Regions from separate parts of the Homo sapiens genome. Here all the other regions are linked to region 3. Evidence: promoter capture Hi-C in 16 types of primary human blood cells and fetal thymus (Javierre and others, 2016). All regions are on one chromosome and are shown on one strand. Each heading gives the region's core, a stretch centred on a gene start or on the middle of the fragment in contact. The rest is flanking DNA. Distances are from core to core; before and after follow the strand shown. Region 1 overlaps MYRFL (myelin regulatory factor like). Region 2 overlaps MYRFL (myelin regulatory factor like). Region 3 holds the start of KCNMB4 (potassium calcium-activated channel subfamily M regulatory beta subunit 4). Region 4 overlaps MYRFL (myelin regulatory factor like).

Region 1 (2,700 bases), core at 106-2,605, 470 kb after region 3:
AGCAAAGAATGTTCAAGTACTTAAAAAGCTTTTCAAGGCATCATCCTAGGCACTGGGCAGGAGGAACAAGTCACTGAAAAGACACATAAGACAATAGTCCCTACCTTAACGTGGTATTCTGTTGATGAGGAAAGAAATAAATACCTGTGAAATTAAACAATGAGAACACAAGACAACAGAGTATTTCAGGTAGGCAGTGAATACAGAGAGGGCTGGAAGATGGCTGAAACATCAGGAGTAAGGCAGCTCCTTATTTATTCATTCATTCTAGAAGTACTTATGGAGCACCCACTATGTACGAGGAACTGCTTTAGGCATTAGAGATAAGAACTGAACACAATTAACAAAATTTCCTGTCCTTGGGGAGCTTACATTCATTCTACTATGAAGAAACAATGATATACAATATAATAAACAAATCATAAGAATTAACATTTATTCAGCATCTGCTACAAACTCTTCTTGTTCTGTGAATATTGGAAAAGACTTGTGAGATCAGCCCTGTAATATACAACTGGTGGGTATTCACATTGTAACAAATCTTTCTAGAAAGCAACTGGTGGCCTACATCAAGAGTTTTAATAATATGTATCTTTCATGTGTAAATTCCCCTTCTGGAATGTATCCTTATGCAAAGGTGGGTGGATGTTCACTGAAGTTTTATTAACAATAAAAAATGGAAAATAAACAAAACTTCTAATAATAAGGGAATTAATATGATGCATCCATACAATGGAAAACTATATTATCTTTGTGAACAATATTTTTATGGGGTCCTTACTAATATCATATAATGTGATGTCCACAATATATTACTAGCAATATGAGATTAATTTTAATAACAGAAGAAAAGAGAAAAAATAGGCTACCAAATGGTGGATCCCAAATACAAATGAATTTCATCTCTTTTTCATACATTTCTATTATGTTCCAAAATTTTCACAATGAACTTATATTACATTCATAATCATACAAAGAATGTCTTTTTGTTGCTTGTTTGTTTGATGTTTATATGTATTTTGGTTTTTGTTTTGTTTTGTTTTTAAGAGCTCAGTTTGGTGCAAGAACAGTTATGTGTGCAGCAGCCAAGCCTTAGTGCCTAAGCCCAGGTTAGCTATCAGAATAAAATATGTAGGCCAGGCACAATGGCTCATGCCTGTAATTCCAACACTTTGGGAGGCAGAAGCAGGAGGATTGCTTGAGCCCAGGAAGTTGAGGCTGTAGTGAGCTGTGATAAAGCCACTGCACTCCAGTCTAGGCGACAGAGCGAAACCCTGTCTTAAAGAAAACAAAACAACAACAAAAACAACAAAATAGGCAGATAATGAATGCTTCTCCCTCTTAGGAACTGGATATGAAGTTACAATTTAAGAAATACTTTTTGATCACTCAGAAGTCATATTACCTCCATTCTGAACCGAGCTCTATCATTTACTACCTTGGATGAATTGTGTAACCTTATTGGCCCTCAGTCTCCCCTCTGTTAAACTGTACAGGAGGGCGTTGACTAAATTAGTGGCTCCTTGGCTTTTTTTAGGTCACAGATCTCTTTGATAATTTGATGAAAATAATGAATCTACTTCATATGAAAATGCATCAACATCAATAAAAATAAAATAATTAAGAATACATTTAGTAAAAGAATTGCAAGAGTATTCACTGAAAACTATAAAACTATCATTTGAATGATGCCGTGCCATTTTCTGAGCCCAGGCTTACGAAATCGACATCTTGGCTGGATATGGTAGCTCATGCCTGTTATCCCAGCACTTTGGGAGACTGAGGCAGGAGGCTCACTTGAGCCCAGGAATTGAAGCCCAGCCCAGGCAACATAGTGAGACCCCATCTCTACAAACACAGCCAGCATGGTGGCACACACCTGTGGTCCCAGCTATTTGGGAGGCTCCCACTTGAGCCTGGGAGGTCAAGGCTGCAATGAGGCATAATCATGCTGCTGTGCTCCAGCCTGGGTGACAGAGCAAGACCATGTCTCAAAGAAAAAAAGAAAGAAAGAACGAACGAACGAAAGAAAGAAAGAAAGAAAGAAAGAAAGAAAGAAAGAAAGAAAGAAAAAGAAAGGAAGGAGGAAAGAAAGAAAGAAAGAGAAAGAAAGAAAGAAAGAAAGAAAGAAAGAAAGAAAGAAAGAAATTGACACCTTTCACTTAACTTGTCTTGCAATGTTTATCCTTAGAAGCCAGCCACCATGGTGTGAAGAAACACAAGCTATCCCATAGAGCAGTTCACATGGAGAAGAGCTAAGCCCTGTCAGTTAGAGCCCCATTTGAGCTCCAGCTGATGGCCAGCCCAAACTCAACAGGCATCTGAGTGCTTCTTGAAAATGGCCCAGTTAAGCTGCCCCAGTTGATGACTTCTGAACAAAGATGAGTTGTCATAGTCACACGCTGACCCAGTTGCAGATTTGTGACCAAAATAAAGGACTGTTATTATTTTAAGTCATTTTGGGATAGTTTGTCATGCAGCAATAGACAACTGAAACAAAATAAATGTTGACTGATATAAACTGAACTAAATAAAAGACATACCTTAGTGCCAAAAACTTTCAAGTAAAACATTTCTATTGGCTTTAGGCCCATCTCGGTTTCAACAAATTTTGGACTTCCCCAAACTTGGATGTGAATGGTTATCTGGAAATGATTCTTCTTTTGGCAAACAAAAGCTTCATCTGCTGGTGAAAAATTA
Region 2 (2,700 bases), core at 200-2,699, 490 kb after region 3:
AGACCTGGACCCTTATATTAGCTTCCCCACCCTGTAAAGCTACCTCCATCACCCCAACAGAAGTTGGAAAGGTTTACTCTCTAGAGAAATGGTCCCAGGGAAACTGTGGTACAGGGTTACCAGGCACAGTGAATGCTGTGGCTGAGCTACTGGGCTGAAAAAATAGAAGAATTCATTAAAAATCTAACCACTGAATTCTGAGTCTTTTCCTTAACTCTGTTTTGCATGTATCCAAGCAGATTTCCCACAAGTAAGAAATTGGAATAATGTTCCCAAGAAAAATGGAATGTACTCGAGGAAAACGTAGTATTTTCAAGTTACCAAGGAAATAGCCATCCCCTCCTTCATCACTCTACCAAGAAATTCATCCTTGGATGAGAACAATGGTTTGCACACAGAACTTTTTAAACACGAACAAACAATAAAGGACCAGACATTTTGAGAAAGGCTTTAACATTAAAGACAGAGAACAAAACCAGATAAATAGGGAATGCTAAAGAATCACAAAGAGCTCTTTTCGTTTTTTTTTCCCCCTTCTTATATGATGATTAAACTCCTACCAAATCTGACCCTCCCACAGAGAAACAGTACAAATGCTGGAAATACTTTAAAAACAAAAACAAAACAAAACAAAAAACACCACCTACCCAAAGACACTGGAAACTAGACAAAAGCAAGGAGATTGTGGTGGGCACTGAAACTTGGAGAAGGTACTGCCATACAGTGAGTTTCTTGTTTACAGCATTTAGTCTGAGGGCTGGTTGAAGTCAGAGCCACAGGACAGCTAACCTCCGATAGAAATCCACAGCCTTCCTGGCCTGAATAACCAGAAAACAAATTTTGGGGCAAACACAGCTGCTGAAAAGTGAAAGAGGAATCTTGGAAAAGAAAGATAAGAGCAGGGGACCCCTGGATTCTGTGTGTAACTCTGCCAAATCTATTGCTGACTCCTGATCTATCATATATGGGGCAGACTGCGCACAGCCCAACCAAAGACAACAGGACTGAACTGAAATTTGAGTTACTTCCCGAGACAAAGTTTACAATTTGAGTCTAAGCAAAGTGATTGACTACTAAAACAAAAGTATACTCTTCTGAGGGATGTAAAAGAATCCAGCCATTCACAATGTCCAGGTACAAAAACTACTCTACAACAGCAATCCCCAACCTTTTTGGCACTAGAGACTGATTTCATGGAAGAGATGGACGTAGTGGGGGCGGGGGATGGTTTCGGGATGAAACTGCTCCATCTCAGATCATCAGGCGTTAGTTAGATTTTCATAAGGCACATGCAATCTAGATCCCCCTCGCCTGTGCAGTTCACAACAGGGTTCCCGCTCCTAATGCCGCTCTAATGCCGCTGCTGATCTGACAGGAGGCAGAGCCCAGGCGGGAATGCTCTTGCAGCCAGGTTCCTATCAGGCCATGGACCCGTAGCAGTCCACCGGCAGGGGTTGGAAAAACTGCTCTCTACAAAGAACCAGAAAAATGTGGCCTAGCTTGGAGGGAGAGAACAATCTGTGAACACTAACCCAGAAATGATCCAGATACTGGATTAGCAGACAAGGATCTTTAAAGCAGCTACTATAAGAAGCTAAATGGAGCAGACAAGCACATGCTTGTGAAAAAAAATAAATAAAATCTCAGCAAAGAAATCAAAACTACAAATAAAAAAACTAAATAGAAATTCTAAGATTAGAAAAATTCCAGAAATAAAAATTTAAAAAAATTATTAGATGGGCTTAAAACAGAACTCAAAGATACATCAATAGACATCATCCCATCTAAACAACAGAGAGGAAAAAAATGAACTTTAAAAAAGAGAGAGAAAAAGAGATTTATGAACCTGCAGAGAGGATGAAACAGAAAAAAAAATTAAGATATAACAGCCAAAATCTTCCTAAATTTAGGAAAAGATATAAATGTATATATCTTTATGAAGATATATACTTCACTCTGATGTGGTAGATGTATTTATTTTGCTGAGCTTCTTAAAGATATAAATGTATATATCTTAGATATATACATTTATATCTTTAAAGATACATACATTTATATCTTTAAGAAGCTCAGCAAAATAAATACATCTACCGCATCAGAGTGGAGTAACTGTAAGCCAAAAATAAAGAGAAAGTCTTAAAAGTAGCTAAAGAAAAACAGTACCTTATGTGCAGGGTCATAGTGATTCAAATAATCACTGACTAATCAAAATCTCCAGAGGCCAGAAGACAGTACAAAAACATCTTTAAAGTGCTACAGAAAAACAAAATTGGTAAGCCAGAATTTGATATCCAATGAAAATAGTCTTCAAGAATGAAAGCAAAATAAAGATATTTTGAGATAAAAGAAAACTAAGTGAATTTGAGAATAGACATGTACAATAAGAAATGTTAAAGACAGTTATTCAGGCTAAAGGGAAATGGTTCTAGATGGAAATTTGAAACTATGAAAAGGTATGAAGAGAATAAAAATGATATATTATTGAATGTAAATTATTTTTTATCTTAATTTTTAAAAATACATCTGAAGGTGGGCACAGTGGCTCATGCCTATAATCCCAGCACTTTGGGAGGCCGAAGGAGAAGAGTTGCTTAAGACCAGGAGCTTAAGACTAGCCTGGACAACATGGGAAGACCCTGTTTCTACAAAAAATATTAAAATTAGCAGGGCGTGGTGGCATGCACCTGTGCTCCCAGCTAC
Region 3 (2,700 bases), core at 31-2,530:
TAGAGCGAAAAGGTGAGGAACTCTCTCACAACTTTCGAGAGTCCCCTCGACCTTTCAAGGAAGGTCATTCCATCTGAGTTCTAGATGAGACCAGCTGAAGCTCGGACCTTGACCGTGAGCTGGAGTAGGTGGATCCCCGCTAACCACTGGCTTTAAATGGAGGAAAAGTTAACTTTCTTGGCTCCTTGCACTTCTCCAAACCCAGTCCGGTAGGCGCAGGACCCGGACTGGGTCGAGGCCTCAAAATCTGAGACCAGGCAAGACAGGTTTTAAAGTAAGCCTCTGGGCACCACTGGTCGCCGCGCGTAAACCCACCTGAAAAGACCGGAGCCCTGGGGCTCCCTGATGTAGTCATTCCTGGTTTGAGCACAGCCTGCGCCACCTGGTCTCCTCCTAGCAATGCGAGCACACGCCGAACCCTCCCCGCGCGGAGTCTAACACCGACGCTGCCTCCAAACCTCCCTCGCGGGGAGCCCCTGGGTGCGCGGGGCGTTCTTACCTTGGGGTTGGTCAGGAGCTGGTGCTCGTCGCTGTGCAGCAGCGCCCTAGAGTTGGACTCAGAGTTGTTCACGTAGACCTGGACGCAGGGGTACTGCGAGGTGCCCCTGCAGTCGGCGCCACAGGTGAAGGTGCACTCGAACACCTCGCCGATCTGCTGCACCGACAGCACCGTGCAATTGGCCTCCGTGGCTTGCAGATCCTGCAGCGCGGGACTCAGCCAGCAGAAGCCGAAGATGAAGAGCGACACGACGCCGGAGATGATGAGAAACAAGCCGAGCCGGATGCTCTTGTCCTCGGCTTCCGTGTACTCGTAAGCCACCCGGAGCTTCGCCATCGCCCCCCACTCTCGGCGGCTGGCGTGCTCCCCCCGCCCCCTCCCGCCCCCGGCGCCGAGCCCGACTGCCTCGGGCGGGAGGAGCCGCCGCCGCCACCGCCGCCGCCGCGCGACAGCAGGGGAGTGGGCGGCGAGGGGGAGCGCGCGAGAACAAAGGGGCCGAGGCCAGCGACGCCCCCGGCGGCGGCGGCGGCAGCGCCCCCCAGCCCCCCAGCCGCCGCCTGGGCCCCGCGGTGCAGCAGCCGCTTCAGAGCCTCCTGCACCCTCGGGCGCGGGGAGCGCACGGACCGCTCCAGCTTCCAGCGCCCCCTGCCAGCCTCCGCCCCCGCACTCTCCCCGCCTCCCCCACCCCGCCTCCTCTCGTCGGGTGTCTCTCTGTCTCCATCGCCCGCTGGCCGCTACTCCGCTGACTCGCCCGGCAGCTGCCCCAAGGCTAGGAGTGTCTGAGCTGGGGCGAGCCCGGGGGCTCCCCCGTGCAGGAGGAGGCTCCGCCCCGCCCCGTCCGCAGCAGACCCGGGCCCTTCCGCCCCGCCCCGCTCCGCCCCGCCCCGCCCGGGGGCGTCTCCTTTGGGCGAGGGGCTGACGGGCACAAGCGACAGCGGCGACTTGCAATCGGAATCTTCGCTCACTCCCCTTAGAGGGACGTCCGAGATGAAAGATTAAGATCAATTTAGCTTAACCGGAGGGAAGTTAAAATAATAATAATAATAAGAGGGGAGGGTGGAGTTCAAGTGGAGCGGCGGGAATCTTGAACTCCAAACGAGTACTGGTCACCTGCAGGGAGAGCGGCCAGGCTCCGGGCGCACCCCGGGAAGCGGGCACGGGTGGCGGTGTGGGAGGACACGAGCCGCCCAGGCCGGGCGGATCGAGGTGAAAGCCCCAGGCTAGCGGTGTGCGCTGGGAGGTCCCCGGGGACGACTGAATCGCAGGTTCCCATGCCACGGGCGGGCTGGCGCGCGGTGGTGCCGGAGGCGTGACCCAGCCGCGCCCACGCCGCCAGCGGCTGCGCCCAAGGGAGCGCAGTAACCGTCCAGTCCCAGGACTTGGGCCTCCTAACCGTCTTGGCGCAGACCCGCGCCCCCTGACCCTGCTGAGGCCGGGAGGGCTGCAGGATTGGAGTTAAACAAGCTGAGTCAGGTGGAGTTTGCTGTGGAGGCAATGTGCGTGGGGGCAGGAGGCTGGACGAAGGAAACTTGCTGCTTAGGTCGTCGGTGACCCTTGTGGCAACTTAGGTCTCTGGCAGCCGAGTTGACCCCAACTTGATTTGCCCCCATGGCTGGGGCTGACTGAGACCAAAGGAAAAAGGTGGAGAGCTTTGCAGCCTGGAAAGAAATACCACTTTACCCATCAGAAAAGTACTCTTGCTTTGGGGCTCGCAAGAACAGAATCATTTCTGTCGTTTCCCTCCTTAGGAGTCTTGCCACCCCTGACCCGCCCCAGGATTTGTAGATGAGGTTTCCAGGAGCGCTGCTTAAAGCGACAGCGCCGGGCAGACCCACTTTGGGACAGGTACTGTTTCTAGACCTGTGTTCTGCTCTTAATTCTTGCCGTTGCTCCCTCCTCCCCCAATTACGCTAACAATGCTTCAGCCTCTATTGTTTTCGCGACCTTTTTAAAGTTAGAATGACCTTTTCCCAAACTACACTTTTATCATAAAATCAAACTTGAGAACTATTTATATGTACATTTCGAAGAATAAAATCAGAATATTAACTTCCTTGCAAACTACATAAACTTTTTTTGTTTGCTTGTAAGTCTCAAATGAATAAACTCTTAATTATGTTCCTGATGAATACGGAAACATGGAATCATGGAATTCTTGACTTCTCTTTCCTGGACTTCAAATGTTACTTAACTGGTATTGA
Region 4 (2,738 bases), core at 153-2,652, 450 kb after region 3:
ATCCCATGTTCAAGGATTAGAAGACTTAATATTGTTACAATGTCAACACTACCCAAAGTGATCTACAAATTCAATGAAATCCCTATCAAAATCCCAACGTTGTCTTTTGCAGAAATAGAAAGATCTATTCTAAAATTCACGTGGGATCTTAAGAGACCCTGAAAATAGACAAGGAAATCCCCCCAAACAAGAACAAAGCCGTATGACTCACACTTCCTGATTTCAAAACTTACTACAGAGTTAGAGTAATCAAAACAGTGTGGTACTGGCATAAAGACAGACATACAGACAAATGGAATATAATAAACAGCACAGAAATAAACTCTCACATATATGGTTAAATGATTTTAGACAAGGATGCCAAGACCATTCAATGGGAAAAGGACAGTCTTTTCAACAAATTGTGCCAGGAAAACTGGGTATCCATATACAAAAGGATGAAGCTGGACTCTTACCTAACACAAATATTAACTAAAAATGGATCAAAAACAGGAATGTAAAACCTAAAATTATAAAACTCTTCAAAGAAAACAAAGGGCACAATCTTTACAATATTGGATTTGGCAATGATTTCCTGGATAGAACACCATTGGCATAGGCAACAAAAGGGAAAATAGATAAACTGGATATCATTAAAATTTAAAACTTTTGTACATAAAGACACTATTAAGAAAGTGAAAAGACAACCCACAGAATGGGAGAAAATATTTGCAAATTATATATCTCATAAGGGATTAATATCCAGAATATATAGAGAATTCCTGAAACCTAACAACAGTAAACAACCCAAGTCAAAAATGGGCAAAGGACTTGAATTGACATTTTTCCAAAGAAGATATATACATGAACAATAAACACATGAAAAGATGTGCAACATCACTAATCATTAAGGAAATGTAAATCAAAACTAGAATGAGATATCACCTCACACCCATTTGGATGGCTTCTGTTTGAAAAAAGAAAAAAAAAATTACAAGCATCGGTGAGGACGTGGACAAACTGGAATCTTTGGGAACTGTTGGTGGGAATGTAAAATGATATCGTCACATGGGAAATAGTATGGTGGTTCCTCAAAAAATTAAAAATAGAATTGCCATGTGATCCAGCAGTTCCACTTCTGAGTAAATATTCCCCCTAAATTGAAAACAGAATATTGAAGAGACATTTGAATACTGACAATCATAGCAGTATTATTCACAATACCTAAAACATGGAAGCAACCCAAGAGTTCATCAACATAGGAATGGATATGCAAAATGTGAATAAAGGTGAAAATTATTCAGTCTTAAAAAGAAAGGAAATTTTGATACACACTGCAACATAGATGAACCTCGAGGACATTAAGCTAAGTGAAATAAGCCAGCCACAAAAAAAGAAAGAAATGCTCTATGATTCTGCTTATATGTAGTCAGAATCATAGAAACAGACAATAGAATTGTGGTTGCCAGGGGCTAGGGAAAGTGGATAATGGGGAGTTATTGTTTTACAGGTACAGAGTTTTTGTTTTACAATATGAAAAAGAGTTCTGGAGATGGATGGTGGTGATGGTTGTATAACATGATGAACGTATCAAACATCAATGACTTGTATGCTTAAAAATGGTTAAGATAATACATGTTATGTTTTGTGTATTTTACCACAATAAAAAACCTGGGAAATAAATATATAAATAAATGTTTCATGATATACCTCTCAAGTGAAATGATAGCCCAGGTCTGGGAGAGAGACTGAAGAATTGCTTCTATCGAAGATATGTTCTTGGGAAGCAGGAGGCAGTAAGTCAACTTCTGCCACTGTGCTCTTGCAGCCCTGGGCTGAGCAGGCCTCCCAGACCATGTCATCTAAGAGTTTGTGGTACAGTGGCTGGTAGGTGGAAGATGGTGGTGGTGCCTAACATGAAAAGGCATCCTCTGCTTTGCTGCTCCAAGTGTGGCTTCTGACCAGCAAGGTTGGTAAGATTGGCATTACCAGGAGGCTGGTTGGAATTGCAGGATCTCTGGCCTCACTCCATTCTTGCAGAATCAGAATCCACACTTTAATAAGATTCCCAGTGATGCATGTGCACTTTGAAGTTCAGGGAGCATTACCTCCATTAACTGACAAATTATAAATTAGTCTCCACTCAAGCATCTCTCCCCATGACTACAAAACCCTTATATCAATTGGTCTTTCCTCTCAGCATCAAATATAATAATGCAGTATAAAACAAATCAGCATCAGAGTGCATTTGCAAACCTTGCAAAAATGCAGGATTTCATAGAATCAATAGATATGGTATTAGGGAACTCCTCAAATCATACACACAGCATCGACAAGCAAGGAACTGGCAGATTTAGACCCATTACCAAATGAAGACGAGCTAATCTACAGGCATGATGGCATTCCTTCAAAAGAGAATGATTTGAATATCAAAGAATTAAGAGAGGCCCTTGGGAAAAAAATGATCAGGCCCATGAATATCTTCATAAAAATGACTCACTTTATGATTATACTGTAAAAGTCAAACACCGTTTCATCAAAAAAACTATGCTCAAAAAATTCAACACTTCACTTAATCTTTAATCATTCTAAGAAGAAACACATTGTGTAATTATAATTTAAGTTGCATTACCTAAAATATAATGCATTTTTCATAAGTTTATTACCATTTTAAAAGATGAAGTCTAATTAAAACTTTTTTGTCAGTATTTATCATGATGTTTGGCCCTTGTTTAAAGTGCATTCATGCTAAGTGGACT

What was found. Contacts are between HindIII fragments. The CHiCAGO score rates a contact against its expected background, and 5 or more counts as called.
Region 1: a fragment that was not itself captured here is called in contact with the fragment with the promoter of KCNMB4 in region 3 in 3 of 17 cell types (M1 macrophages, M2 macrophages and endothelial precursors); the score reaches 9.1 in M1 macrophages.
Region 2: a fragment that was not itself captured here is called in contact with the fragment with the promoter of KCNMB4 in region 3 in 2 of 17 cell types (monocytes and M0 macrophages); the score reaches 7.7 in monocytes.
Region 4: a fragment that was not itself captured here is called in contact with the fragment with the promoter of KCNMB4 in region 3 in 5 of 17 cell types (monocytes, M1 macrophages, M2 macrophages and 2 more); the score reaches 8.0 in monocytes.

Annotation. Positions count from the first base shown.
Region 1 is chr12:69,891,010-69,893,709 of GRCh38, reverse strand. MYRFL (myelin regulatory factor like) reads right to left here. Exons shown (of 25, transcript NM_182530.3): 7 at 2,544-2,700. Among named protein-coding and RNA genes, the nearest start is that of MYRFL, 67 kb to the right of the region's middle. RefSeq lists a silencer at 2,175-2,375. The HindIII fragment of the contact is 2,649 bases long and covers 31-2,679 here.
Region 2 is chr12:69,874,305-69,877,004 of GRCh38, reverse strand. All of the region lies in intron 2 of MYRFL (myelin regulatory factor like), which reads right to left. Among named protein-coding and RNA genes, the nearest start is that of MYRFL, 50 kb to the right of the region's middle. The HindIII fragment of the contact is 4,392 bases long and covers 1-2,700 here.
Region 3 is chr12:70,364,870-70,367,569 of GRCh38, reverse strand. KCNMB4 (potassium calcium-activated channel subfamily M regulatory beta subunit 4) reads right to left here and starts at 1,280. Exons shown (of 3, transcript NM_014505.6): 1 at 500-1,280. The coding sequence starts at 835. RefSeq lists a silencer at 1,225-1,464. The HindIII fragment of the contact is 11,202 bases long and covers 1-2,700 here.
Region 4 is chr12:69,911,201-69,913,938 of GRCh38, reverse strand. All of the region lies in intron 13 of MYRFL (myelin regulatory factor like), which reads right to left. Among named protein-coding and RNA genes, the nearest start is that of MYRFL, 87 kb to the right of the region's middle. The HindIII fragment of the contact is 3,573 bases long and covers 1-2,738 here.